Regions from separate parts of the Homo sapiens genome. Here region 2 is linked to region 1. The links are contacts of gene promoters, found by promoter capture Hi-C in blood cells and fetal thymus (Javierre and others, 2016). All regions are on one chromosome and are shown on one strand. The core of a region is centred on a gene start or on the middle of the fragment in contact, and the rest is flanking DNA. Distances in the headings are between cores, read along the strand shown.

The links. Contacts are between HindIII fragments. The CHiCAGO score rates a contact against its expected background, and 5 or more counts as called.
Region 2: the fragment with the promoter of YTHDF1 here is called in contact with the fragment with the promoter of BHLHE23 in region 1 in 9 of 17 cell types (activated CD4 T cells, fetal thymus, endothelial precursors and 6 more); the score reaches 8.0 in activated CD4 T cells.

The regions. Positions count from the first base shown.
Region 1 is chr20:63,001,301-63,008,647 of GRCh38, forward strand. It overlaps BHLHE23 (basic helix-loop-helix family member e23), which reads right to left and starts at 5,664. Exons shown (of 1, transcript NM_080606.4): 1 at 4,627-5,664. The coding sequence starts at 5,474. The coding sequence ends at 4,749. RefSeq lists enhancers at 2,545-3,058, 5,383-6,088, 6,089-6,796. The HindIII fragment of the contact is 10,733 bases long and covers 892-7,347 here.
Region 2 is chr20:63,211,632-63,218,230 of GRCh38, forward strand. It overlaps YTHDF1 (YTH N6-methyladenosine RNA binding protein F1), which reads right to left and starts at 4,500. Exons shown (of 5, transcript NM_017798.4): 1 at 4,235-4,500; 2 at 3,946-3,970; 3 at 2,233-2,312. The coding sequence starts at 4,261. RefSeq lists silencers at 4,373-4,442, 4,573-4,852. The HindIII fragment of the contact is 6,581 bases long and covers 2,366-6,599 here.

The DNA.
Region 1 (7,347 bases), core at 4,414-6,913:
GCCGGATGGACCCAGTGGCACCAGACAGGCCCTAGGGTGGAGGTGAAGCTGGGGCAGTTTTGCCCTGACATAGGAGGCCGAGCGCCTGTTACTGAAAACCGGGGATGCAGTTGTAGGTGAGTGAATTTCTTAACTGGGGGAAGCAAAGCTCTTTGTAACATATACCAGGCACCAGCGGAACCAAAAGTGCTCGGGCCACAGTGCCTCACCCAGGGGTGGGAAAGTCCTTGGCAGCTTGGTTTCAGGCAGGAAAGTGCGTGTTAAGGGCTGCCTTGTCTGAGGTACGCTGACCACAGGGCATCCAAACGCGTGGAGATGCAGGAGAAGTGTCTGTCTCTTTAAGAAATGAAAGGCCAGGCACGGTGGCTCACGCCTATAATCCCAGCACTTTGGGAGGCCGAGGTGGGTGGATCATGAGGTCAGGGGTTCGAGACCAGCCTGACCAACATGGTGAAACCCCGTCTCTACTAAAAATACAAAAAAATTAGCTGGGCGTGGTGGCGGGCGCCTGTAATCTCAGCTACTCAGGATGCTGAGGCAGGAGAATTGCTTGAACCTGGGAGGTGGAGGTTGCAGTGAGCCGAGATCGCGCCACTGCACTCCAGCCTGGGCGATAGAGCAAGACTCTGTCTCAAAAAAAAAAAAAAAAGAAAAGAAAAAAGAAAAAAGGAGAGGCCTTGTGAACCCCACATTTGTTTTCTAACCTGCTGGGCCCTCTATTTTTACCCAGCAAGCTGGAGAGTCCCTGGGGAGCAAGGAAGCAGGCATGGCCATCAGTGCATGAAGACAAGAGTGGGACCTAGGTCAGGCAACCTGCATCTCCTGACCGCACGAGGGACCCTTACAGAGCCACTGGGCTCGGAGAAGCCTGCCCCAAGCTCCCACAAACTAAGCTTCACAAAACTCGTTTCCAAAGAGAGGCCAAGCCATCAAGAGAATGGGTCTTGGCCAGACGTGGTGGTTCACGCCTGTAATCCCAGCACTTTGGGAGGCTGAGGCAAGTGGATCACTCAGGAGTTCAAGACCAGCCTGGGCAACATAGGAAAACACCGTCTCTACGAAAAACAAATTAGCTGAGCGTGGTGGCGCTCGTCTATAATCTCAGTTACTCAGGAGGCTGAGGCAGAAGAACAGCTTGAACCCAGGAGGCAGAAGTTGCAGCGAGCAGATATCGCACCACTGCACTTCAGCCTGGGCAACGGAGTGAGACTCCGTCTCAAAAAAAAAAAAAAAAAGAACAGGTCTTGATCTGTGAGTCGCTCAAGCAGCAGCCAGCAGGGCCCACACCTTTACTCTGTGGCCTTGTAATCCGCTTTCTCCCGTTTCCTAGGCTTGGGTGTGGTTGGCGCGTGTGAGGCTGGAGGGGCATGTGGACCCAGTGACTCAGTGGGCACAGCCTCTGCCTTTCCTGCTGCCGGCCCAGGCCCCAGCCACAGCCCCAGCCCCAGCCCGCACTCCGGAGAAAGGCTCGATGAATCAGGATTGGAAAAGAAACAAGGATGGGACATTTCCTATTTGCCCAGCTCTAGAATGGACTCCTTAAGTCCATAGGCATTTCCTGGTTATTATTAAACAAAGAGAAAGAAGCAAGGAGTACTTTGCGTGCTTGGTGTTTTCACGGCCGAGAGCTGCAAAACCCGAGGCTGCCAAACCACGCGTGGCCACTGAGCACTGAAACGCATTGGAACATGGCTGGTATGAACTGAGCTGGGCTTTAAACACATGCTGGAACTTGAAGACTTAGTGCCAGGAAAGTAAAATATCGAATAACTTTAAATATGGATGACACACTGAAATGATATTTTGGATGTATTGGGATAAGTATTAAGTTATCAATAAAAATAATTTCATCTGCTTCTATTTCCTTTTTTAATATGGCCACTTGAAAATGTAAAATTCTACACATGACCACGTTCTCTCCCTACAGCAACACTGGTCACGGGGTGGTGTGAACACCTCGGTTCTGGGGACGCTGCCTCCCACCTCCCACAGCCTGCACATCTCTACCTAGAAGGAATCTAAAGGTGAGCATCTTAGCCAGACGTGGTGGCTCAGCCTATAATCCCAGCACTTGGGAGGCCGAGGCAGGCAGATCACTTGAGGTTAGGAGTTCAAGACCAGCCTGGCCAACATGATGAAGCCCCATCTCTACAAAAAAATACAAAAATTAGCCAGGCGTGGTGGCGCACATCTGTAGTCCCACCTACTAGGGAGGCTGAGGCAGAAGAATCGCTTAAATCCGGAAGGCAGAGGCTGCAGTGAGCCAAGCCAAGATGGTGCCACTGCACTCCAGCCTCCGTGATGGAGCGAGACTCTGTCTTAAAAAACAAAACAAAACAAAACAACACAGTGAGCGTCTTGAAAAGCTCAGCTGGAAGCAAAGCTCTTTCGTGTTTGGTTCCTCCCTGAGTGTTGGGGGAAGGGTGGCTCCTGGTGGGTGGTGACGGTGAAGTTCTTTCCCGGTGATCCCCAGCCATTCTCAACACACCTGCAGGAGCACAGCCGTCAGAGAAAAGACGAGCAGCCCCCCACGTTTCTCGGGAGCCACGGGCTTGCACAGGCACCCACGTGGGTTCTGCTTTGCTGTTTGCCAGATGTGGGCACACAGGCCGTGGAGGGCTGTCTTGGAATGAGAAGATCCTTGGGCAAATCTGAGAAAGGCCAGATGACACTGTGATTGCCCAGGTGGCTTCGCGAGCAGCCACTGCAGAGAAGGCGAGCTAATTCTCCGAAACACTCCACTCCACTCAGGCCAAGTGAGAAGCATGCAGACGTTTGTAGAACAGTAGACACACAGCTTTGTCATGTACAAAAAAGTTTAAATGTAACTTGAATTTTTATTTAAATTAAGTAATCGGAAGAATTTTTGATTAGTGAAGTGGTTTTTTCAAAAACTTATTCTCCACCCAAAGAGAGAAAGAGAGATTTTTTTCCTCTGCCCTTTTCCTTATGATTTCACACATGTGCTATAATAAGTGGTTGCTTTTAGATGAGTTTTAGCATCTCAGAGACTCTTCAGACTCTGGTTTCGAGTGGACACAAGTATCTGAAAATTGAAATTATTGTGAATTCAGCTACAAATGAACACTATTTCACTTGATATTAAAATTTAACCATATTATTTTTATAAAATAAATGGCAATAAAATGCTTTATTCTGAATATAAATGATGTACCAATGTCTCTGATTTTAACCAGAATAAACACCCCTGTTTCAAATTCTGATAAGCAGGTAATTTATTTAAGATCACGTTGAAATGACCCTAGAAGTGAAGGGCATTTGAGTTTCCAGCTTTCCCACTTTATCTAAAAGGGGAAAAACGGTGTCTGGCACTCAGCTTTTCGAATGTGCAAAACTGATAAACTAGTCTGTTAGGGGAAAAAAAAAAGACAATGAAGAAATAAAAGTGGAAATTAGCAGAAACCAGTATTAGGCATATGTCTTTATGAATAAGACTTAACCATACACTTGATTTTGCAAGTACAGAAGGCCCTGTGGAATGTATTAATCAGAGTTAAACGCTGTAGACAGGCGCGTTGCAGGGCGGCGGCCCTCTCCCCTTGGCATTACCGACAGCCGAGGAAATTGGGTTAATAAAGCCGGATACTGCGGCGGGGCCGCGGGGCGCAAACCGGCGCGGACAGATGGGTCCCCGGGGGCACCCTGCCCGGCTCCCTGGATCCCGGATGGTGGCAGAGCTGGGAGCTGCGCAGGACGGGCACTGCGCAGCGCATCTCCGTTCACACCCGGCGGGGCACGGGGCCCGCAGCAGCTTACTCACCCGTAGCCCGGCCTCCTCCCTCGGAAGGGAGAGGGGATCGGTGGGGAGGGGGTTTGCTGGACACCAGGGCTAGACGGGGCCCTCCCCTGACCGTCAGGGTTAAGTAGGGCGCGGGCTGTGAGGACCCTCCTCCACGCAGCCCCCCGAGGCAGAGGGCCCGCAAAGCGGTCTCCATCCAACTCCACCCCGCGGACGTCCCAGGCAGCGGATGGCGGCGGGGGGGGGAGGCCAGGGGACATTTAGGGGACAAATTCCTCAGACTTCGAGGCAGCCGGCGACGGCGTCCAATTCCCAAATAAATAGAACAAACTCCTACTTGGAAAAGGCCTTCCCCGGGGTCTTCCTGCGCCCGCGGTCCAGCTCCTCTGCAGACGGCCATCGTGGGCTCTCCGCAGGGCTGCGGAGTCTCGGAGTCACCGAGGTGGGAGGTGCCGGCCACGCGCGTCCTCAGGAACAGAGCACTGCCCTGCAGTTTAGCACGAAGGGCCGGCTGGAGCGGGAGCGCGAGGCCCACTGCAAGAGGATCAGGAGCCAGTAAGTCCGGCTTTTCTTCGTCTCCACCTTTCGTGCGCCCGGGGCCAGGACCGCCTGTCCGGAATCTGACCAGTGCCCGTCCTCGCCGTGGCCCTGGGACCCCGCGGTGGTCTTCTTTTGGGGACGAACGGCAGTGCCCGAAGGATGCTCTACCCACCCCCGTTCCTAGACTTGCTGGGTCCCGACAATACCCAGTGGGTGCCGCGAGTTCCCGGGCGCAGAGTCCAGCGTCCGGCTCTCGAGCTCAATCCCGCGCCCCGACGGCCTTGGCGCTTCCCGCTGCGCTAAACTGTCCACCGCGCACAGGCTGGAAGCGAAGTCGGGCCCCCTCCTCCTGGTCTGCAGGGTCCCTCCAGGCCTTTCCTGTCCGGGCAGAGAGACAGTCACAGGGGCGATCGGAGGACGCGTGCGGGAGGGCCGGGGGCCCGCGCGGTCACGGCTTCTCGTGACAGTGTTTGCAAAGCGCGGAGGGCGTCCCGGAGAAGGCGGCGCACTTGTCAGGGCAGGGCCCCAGGGCGGCGCCTGCGGAGAAGGGGCACACAGTGGCCTGGCCGAAGGGCGTCAAGGGCGCGGCGTTTACGGGCGCGGCCAGGCCCTGGCCCTGGTTGAGGAAGGCCACCAGGCGCCGCATCTCGTCCAGGGCCTGCGCCTGCATGAGGATATAGTTCTTGGCGAGCAGCAGCGTGGCGATCTTGGAGAGCTTGCGCACCGACGGGCTGTGCGCGTAGGGGATGACGGCTCGCAGCCCGTCCAGCGCGTCGTTTAGGTCGTGCATGCGCCGCCGCTCGCGCGCGTTGATGCTGAGCCGCAGAGACCGCTGCTCTCGCGGCCGCCGCCGCCCGTCCGCCGCGCTCCCTGGCCCGCGCCGCCGCCGCCGCTGCTCGAAGGCGTCGTCCTCGTCCCCGCTCTGTTCGCCGCTGCTCTCCGCCGCCTGAGCTGGGGCGCGAGGTGCAGGCGCCGCGGGGAGGTCGCCGCCCGGGCCCGGAGTGCCGTAGCCGCGGGCCGCTTCGGGTTCTCGCGCCGCCCCGTAGGCGAGACCCGCAGCCGCCGCCGCGTAGCCGTGGCTTAGTGCCAGGTACGCGTCCCCCGACAGCGACTTGAGCTCGGCCATGGCCGCGCCGCCTGGGCTCGGGGGCTCGCCGGGTGGGCGGATGCTCATGTGGGTGAGCAGCCCCCGAGGCCGGCCCGAGCCCGCCGCTGCCGCTGCCGCTGCGATGAGGCTCCCGGCTCTGCGCGTCGGTCTGGCTTGCCTGCGGGTCCCAGAGCCTCGGCGCCCGCTGCCTCCTCCGCCTCTTCCTTCTCTCCCACCTCCTCTCCCTCCCAGCCGCGACGCGCAGGGGGCGGGCTCTACCTCCCCCTCGCCCCCGCTTCGGTTTTAAGCCGCGGAGGCGCCCGGTGGGACCTCGCTGCTGTCCAATCAGGGGGGACCGGGTGAGCTCCTCTTCCTGGAGCCGGGCTCCACCAGCGCCGCAGGCTCACAGGCCGGGGGTGGGGGCTCTGGACCGAGGGGCGGCGCGGGGCGGCGCGGGGCGGCGCGCGCGGTCCTGGAGCGCTAGTACTTGCTTCTCGACTCCCCGGCCGCCGCCTCCGGCCGCCCCGGGGATTCCGCCACCAAACGCACGCGTCCCAGGTGGGCACCCGCCTCGGTCCGTCTTTGAGTCTGACCCTAGCGCAAGAGTCCCTGGCGACACGCAGGGGCCAGAGCGGGGGGGCGCGCCGCAATAGCAGCAGCGCCAGCGCCAACACCCTGTCCCGCTGAGGGGCCGCTTCGGGTCGGGGTCAGGGTCGTGGGCGCTCTGGTGCAGCCGCGGCGCAGCGTGTACCCGGAGCCCGCACACTCCCTGCTCGGGGCGCCCTGTGGCCAGGCTTGAGGGGCAGAGTGAGAGGGAGTTTCTAGAACCTGTTGAAAAACGCCACGAGCGTTGCAGGCCGGGGAGGGCGGGAAGGTGGAGGGCAGCGCGGCCTGGGGCTCCCCGGGGGTGGGAGGGGAGCTCTGTGAGCTGCAGGACCGCCTCTTCCCTGCCAGCCGCTTCCTGGGCATCTATCAGCGAAACGCGTGAGGCTTGGTGGGCTTTCCCGGAGCCTCCGAACCCCTGGGGTCCAGCCACACTGGATGGGAATGTGGCCAGCCTCGGACTCGCCTTTTCAGTCCTCTTCCAACCCCGCATGAAGGCCAGAACCCCAGCCCTTCTCCCAGGTGGGAACCTGCCTGGAGGCCCGGCCGAGTGCTGAGGCTAGAGTGTGCTGAGGGATAGTGGCTTCTCCGGTCCTGGCTTGGGTGGGAGACTGGGCCACCCTGGCCTATGGCACGAGGTGGAGCGGCCCGTCGGGCCCTTCTGTGTGACCTGGGAAGGGCCGCATACCCTCCCTGTTCTCCAGGCTCCGCCCCAGGAGGAGCCACAGCGATGGGGCAGTGTGCGCAGCCCCGGGAGGGGAGTGGGAGCTGCACGTGTGTGGGGCGGATGTGCTGTCTGGAAGGTTCTGGGAACGCAGCAGTGACCGGCCTGTCCGGTGGTTCCCTGCCAGGTGCGGGGTGTGAGGAGACAGATGCATGGATAAGTCTCCGTGGGAAACTCAGGCCTTTGTCCTGGCGGAGGGGAATGGGTCTGAGGCAGCCTCTGCCGGGCTGGCGGCCTGTCTGGCTGCGCGTCCTGCAGCACCGGCCTCACCCCCAGCACACGCCCGCCAGGAGCGCAGGGGCCCCGAGGATGGAAGCGTCTGTCTGAGGCGCTGTCCTGGGACCCCACCCCGCCTTCGGGGCTGATGCACAGACCGGGAATTGAGGATACCTGGTGTGGAGGAGGCCGCTGTGTTTGGGCCTGGGTCTGAAGGGTGAGTGGGTGTCATTGTGGCCACGGGCCGGGGTCGGGGGAGCATTCAGGTGGCCGGAGGAGGCCTGGCACAGGGAAGGGCAGTGAGGGGCCCGGGTGGGGCCAGGAGATAGAGGGGCGGGACCAGGCCTGTGGGACAGTTTGAATCACGCGGGGAGTTTGGTCTTTATGGGAAGAAAGGCGCCGTGGCCATTCGGAGAG
Region 2 (6,599 bases), core at 3,250-5,749, 210 kb after region 1:
CCAAACAACACAAAAGCTCCGACTTTATAAAAATATTTTTGGCTGGGCACAGTGGCTCATACCTGTAATCCTAGCACTTTGGGAGGCCAAAGCAGGAAGATCACTTGAGCCCAGAAGTTCAAGACTAGCCTGAGCAACACAAAGAGACCCTGTGTCTACAACCAACCAATCAATCAATCACCAGGTGTAGTGGTGCATGCCTGTAGTCCCAGCTATTCAGGAGGCTGAGGCAGGAGGATTGCTTAAGCCCAGGAATTTGAGGCTACAGTGAGCTATAATCATGCCCCTGAACTCTAGCTTGGGTAACAGCAGGACCCTGTCTCCAAAATACACACACACACACACACACACACACACACACACACACACACACACACTTTTAAGTGTACTGATGCAACCTCCCTCCCCCTTTATTGGCTAAAATTCAGTACATAATACCATTAAAGTACTAAAATAATAAGAACACACTAGAAAACAAGAAATTCAAAAAATTAGTTAACTTCCTGCCATTACCTCTATCCAAAGGCCCATCACTAAAGTCAAGTCAGTTCTGCCCAGAGGAAGGGCAGATTCTCAGAAGGCAACCAAGAGACAAGAAACAGAAGCAGGGTCGGAGCGCGGGGCAGCGCTGCCGAGGCTCCACCTGTACAAGGTTTCTTGGTCTCTAAGCTGCTTGATTCGCCAAGTGCAGTAGGAGGGAGGGGGATGAAGGAACATTCTAAGAAGTTCTAAGACACCTCAGAAAAGGGCAGACTAGTTTTATTCCTTCACAGAGAAGAGGTGAAGCCTGGTTTTACTTTAAAGTAAACATGCCCAGTAGCTGAGGGCTACTTGGAGTGGCGGAGGAAGGAATGTGAATCACAGCACACGAAATGGAGCACTCAGAGCATCTGCTTTGTGCTGCCCCATGAGGCCTGCTCACCAAAGTGAGGAGCTCACAGAGGTGCAGCCCCTCATCCAAGCCAACGGCCTGGAGGTAGGAAAGTGAGGCAGGGGAAGTCTGATTCCCGAGTTGGACTCTTAGACATAAACAGATACCGCTTCTCTTGGGAGTTTTGCTGCAACAGCAGCACAGAGGAGAGAGAGCAGCTCCCAGTAGATTTTAACCAGGGCAACTGTATCCCCCAAAAAACATCCACCAAGACAGTTTTGCTTGCTACAACTGGGGATGGGGAGAAGGAGTTGCTAATGGCATCTAGTGGGTGGGAAGCCAGGGAGGCTGCTAAACATCCAACAATGCACAGGACAGCCCCCAAAACAGAATGTTCCCGTGCAAAATGTCCACAGTGCCAAGGCAGAGAAAGCCTGAATTACCTAAGAAAACAGGGCAGCTATGACTCACTGGGCCCTGCTGTATCAGGTACTGTCTCAGCGCTTTATGTGCACCATCTGATGTCATCCTCCCAACAATTCTACAAACAGTTACTACTCTCTCTCTTCTACAGAAAAGGAAATTGAGGCAAGAGAAGGCAAGCCATGGACACAGGCCAGTCAGTGGTGGAGTTAAAATTGAAACCAGGCTGGGCGCGGTGCCTCACGCCTATAATCCCAGCACTCTGGGAGGCCGAGGCGGGTGGATCACCTGAGGTCAGGAGTTTGAGACCAGCCTGGCCAACATGGTGAAACCCCGTCTCTACTAAAAATACAAAAATTAGCTAGACGTGGTAGTGGGTGCCTGCAATTCCAGCTACTCCCGAGGCTGAGGCAGGAGGAATGCTTGAACCCGGGAGGCAGAGGCTGCAGCAGGCTGAGATCACGCCATTGCGCTCCAGCCTGGGTGGCAAGAGTGAGACGCTGTCTCAAAAAAAGGACTGAAACCCAGGCGGCCTCTGGCTCCACAGTCGCTCCACAGCCCAGCTCTTAGCTGCCTCCCCAGACCACAATTCCAATCATCCAGAGCTAAGAATAACCAGGAAGCTTCAGAAACACACACACACCTCCACTGCGTCAAAGGCAAGACACACCACTGACCCACAAACACTAGAGCCAACTAGACCTGTTTGCATCCCAGCCCCAGTGGGATGCCGCCTCCTCCACAGGGAAAATCATTTTCACCCCACTGATGCCCAAGGTTAACAGGAGTCACATCTTCATGAGCAGTCTATCATTCCTAATACTTTATAGTCTGCTGCTTTGTTGTTTAGGATAATTTAAAAATCAGAAATGACAGTAAAGGTACAAAACAATTAAAACCAACTTAAAAACAAATATATGCTAACAAAATAAACTCACCTGATTTGACTGTCCAGTAAGGTAGGGCTCAAAGTCATTGTCATGAACTGTATCCTTCTGATGTAACGAACCATTTTGTACTAGAACAAAAAGTTGCAAAATATTACCCTCAAATTTTAAAAGATTACTTTTAAGCTTGGAAGGCAAAGTTAGCAAAGTCTATTTCCATCTATTTCTAGCAGAAATTATGCTTTAATTTTAAAAGGAGTACAACCAGTATAGAACTGATGTTTATACAACTAATTAGAAGGGGGACGGGAAACTTTCAATAATTTAGGATAAATTTTAAATAAAGGCTTAATCGTAATTTGGTGAGATTAACCAAATCAAGTGTTAACACATAATGCAAGGAACACATAACCAGGGTGAAAACTGACATGGTCTAAGAAGACTTATGTGTGGCAAAAAGAAGTGGAGCCTCCAAAAGCCCAAATGCAGAATGTATGCCCAAACGTATGGAGAACGGAGGGAAGAAAACTTAGGAGGGAAGGGGCTGCAACTGAAGGACTGTTGGGAGCTATTATCTGACTCTCCACAGTGAACCCCAAATATCTGAGACAGGTCTCAGTTAATTTAGAAAATTTATTTTGCCAAGGTTAAGGACACACCCATGATACAACCTCAGGAGGTCTTGACAACATGTGCCCAAGGTAGTCGGGGGACAGCTTAGTTTTATACATTTTAGGGAGACATGAGAACCATCAATGTAAGATGTACATTGGTTTGGTCCGGAGAGGCGGGACAACTTGAAGCAGGGAGGGGGCTTCCAGGTCATAGGTAGATAAGAGACAAACGGCTGCATTCTTTCGAGTTTCTGATTAGCCTTTCCAAAGGAAGCAATCAGATAAGCATTTATCTCAGTGAGCAGGAATGACTCTGAGTTCTGTCCTTTGTCCACCAGGAATTTCCTTGTGGGCAAACTGTGGGGGAAGTATGTAACTTTTTTTGTCTTAGAAGCTATCTTTTTCAGGAATAGAATGGGAGGCAGGTTTGCCCTCAGCAGTTCTCAGCGTAGCTTTCTCCCTTTGGCTCAGTGATTTGGGTGCCCCAAGACTGGTTTTCCTTTTACACCACTTACCTTCCCACTGTTATTATGCTCAGCCAGAAAAAGCAAGCAAAGGTAAATAAAGTGCTGGGCCTTTTCCAATCTTAAAACACGATGAACCGTATTTGGTTACACCTGAGCTGACACACAAACTGGCTAAAAAAGTGTTCCAAGTAAACGTGAAGTGTCACTTAACAGTTTTCACATGAGTGCGCTCTGAGGGTTTATCCCAAGCCATAATGTCACAGGAGATGCTAACAGACTTGGAAAACGGGCTGCAACTACCGGGGATGTGGAGCTTAGCCTGCAGAACCTTGGACTGCCCCTCTCCTAGAGCAGCCCCTGCTGGGCGGAAAAAGGCAAGTCGCTCAACCCCTGCGGCCATGTCCACCCGGCTCTCCTACCTCCCCTTCCCCAAAGCAAATCCATGATCATGCGGTGGGGAGAGACGGGCCCAAACTACTCTGAGCAATCATTTATTCACTTCTTGAGAAGCCCCTGTCTTCGACCTGTCAAATCTCCCAGAATCGTCGCACAACCTCAAGTTTTATCTCCCTGAAGCTGGCGGAAGAGAGAAAGTTTCCGGTTCCAGACGCAGCTTCCTGGACCGTTCCTTCCCCGTCCTCCTCCACTCCAGCCCGCGCCGGCCGTCCCGGGACTCCGCTCACCTTTATTATCTTGTCCTTTTGTTCTCTGCACCGCCGCAGGCCGGGACGTGGGGTACACACAACCCGGGGGAAGAGGGAAACACAAAGTTATTCACCAGAGAACTGGTCTCCAACGGGCCGCGAGCTCCGCCGGCCCCGACGCGCGGTCACGTGCGACCCCGGCCCCGAGACCCCGGTCCCGCCTGGGCCCGGCCTCCGCGACCCCGGGCTCTGCGTTCCAGCCCCAGGACCTCAACCCAGACCCCGCGCCTCGGCCCCGGCCGCGGCCCCTGTAACCCGGCCCCGCTACCTGGGTGTCCACGCTGGTGGCCGACATGCTTCATGAACAACTAGACGCGGGGCCGGGGCGCCCGCCGGCTCGGGCCTCCCCTAGAGGCCGGGCCTGTCACCCTAGCTCGCGCGGCCCCGGGCCCCGCCGCCAATTCCCCGGGCGCCGGCCGGGCGGCGGCGGCGGCTGCTGGGCGCGCGGGCCCCTGGCGAGGCGGCAGCGGCGGTGAGCCCGGGACGCGGACGCACTGAGGAGGCGTCGACTCCAATGGCGGCGGCGGCGGCGACAGCAGCGGCGACGGCGGCGGCAGGGGACGAGACTGCGCGGCGTCAGCGTGCACGCGGGGCAGGCCGGGAGCGCCGCGCCGGGCCGCCACACTTCGCGCCTGCGCGCTCCCGTCTTACGGGATGGATTTCGCTCTCAGGTCCCAGTCTCGTGCGGCGGGGCGGGGACCGCAGCCGGCTGGGCGGGGAAGCCCTGAGCCGGGGAAGTCACGTGGGGCGTGTCCGGAGGCGCCGCGGGGCCTGGCGGGAAGGGGCTGGCGGGCTGCTGCCAGGTGTACAGCCGCCCACACACACCCCGGCCACAGCCGCACCCCCGACGCGCTACCGGCACTGAGGCCTCTGTAGTTTTCCCCAAGGTCCGAAGACTAAACGCTGTTCTGGTCCGACAGCTGGGCTACGGGTCTGTCCGGGGTCGGTCTGCCCTTCCCCCGCGCGCAAACACCTGCCCGCCCAGAGCTCCGAGCCCCCGCGTGTTCCAGGTCGCGCGCCTCGGCCCTTGCCGCGGGACCTGCGGGCTTTGTTCGCTTTGCGGCCCTGGCCTTCAGCCGCAGCGGAGCCCTGGGCCCGGTCCCGGAGGTCAGCTGTTGTGTGGATGCACCCCTGGACCTGCGAGAGGCTCGCCGGCTTATAACCAAGTTCTCATGTTAGATTCTTGACCCCGATTTCATCACCAGGAGGAAAAGCAGTGCTCTGTGCCCCAGCCTAGGCCGGGCCAGGGGACTTGTCATCTTTGTTCGAGGATGGACAGCCCCTTCTTAGCAGCAACTGTGCAAAGAGAGCCCAGTTCTCAGTTCCTAACCCCTCAGCATCCCCAACCTGGACGCCCTTCTGGTCAAGGTGTTGAATTTCGCTCCCTGCAGCCAGTATCCAATCCTGCCACCCTTGTGGCTAACTCCCTACAGAGGCTTCCAGGTTGATATTTTTCTTTCCAGCTCTGGCAGCTGTAACATCTTCACGTGGCCTGGATCTGGGTCCTGCTAAAGGAGAAAGACCTGGAATGGGGTGTCAGGCAGGTTGACGTCAAATGAGTGTTTTCCACAAAGTGGGCCCGGGCAGATGCGCTAAGCAGGGTGAACAGTGACAGCAGGGACGGCAATGGAGTCCCAAGACGGCTCCAAGCCTGGACATCCGCATCAGTGGGGTAGCAGACAGCCTCTCACACTGCTGCAGGAGGAGGTGGAAACTGCCCCCAGCAGGCCGGTCAGCCACAGAGAGGACTGCTGCTCCAAGTTGCTCCAGGTCTCCCTGGAGCCCTGCCTCGCCTAAAGCTGGGGAAAGCGGGCTGGGCTTGTTTCCCTGGAACAGAGCTGGGGGATGTCTGGTGCCCTGAGGATGAATCTGGATCCCCTGGGACTTTGATGTGTTTGGGCCATGGGCAGACATCTCAGGCCAGGATGAAATCTGTGCATTTGGGGTACATCCGAAAATGAACAGCACGTTTCCAGGATGGTGGCCCACATGGAGAAGATGTGTGGGGATTGTAGGGACAGTGGGGTCCCTGGGGGCACCCTGCCACCTGCTTCTGTGTGATAAGGCCTGCGCATCCTGGGCAGGCCCTGAGTGCCTGCTTCCCAGGACACTGAACTGTTTGGCGGCCAAGACTGCAGCAAGGGGGTGTCTGGGTGGTCAGAGTAGACACTCGGACTCTTGGAGCCCCTGTCTGTCTTCTCACCCAGCTCCCATCCCTGGGCCAGGACGGTGCAGTGGTCACCACTGGAGTTCAGAGCCTCACAGCCAGTTACAGGGCCTTCAGCCTCAGGCCTACTTTCCTCCTCCGTGGTGGGTTAATTACTCCCCTTTCACAGGATGAGTGTGTGGAAGAAACTGGGTATGCAGCCCTTGGCGTCAGGCCAGGGCTCTGTCAACACTGGCTGTTACCTGCTGCCTTCACCCACAAATGCCCAGCCAGTCACAGGAGGCAGCACTGGCCCTGCGGGAAGTGGCCACTCCGAGCTTAGGGGCCTTCTTAGATGGCTGAGTGCCGGCAATGCAGGACCCTGGAGGTGTTTCAGTTTCCTGGAGCTATCTCAACAAAGTACCCGGAACTGGGGGGCTTAAAATAACGGCAATTTATTCTCTCCCAGTTCTGGAGGCCAGAAGTC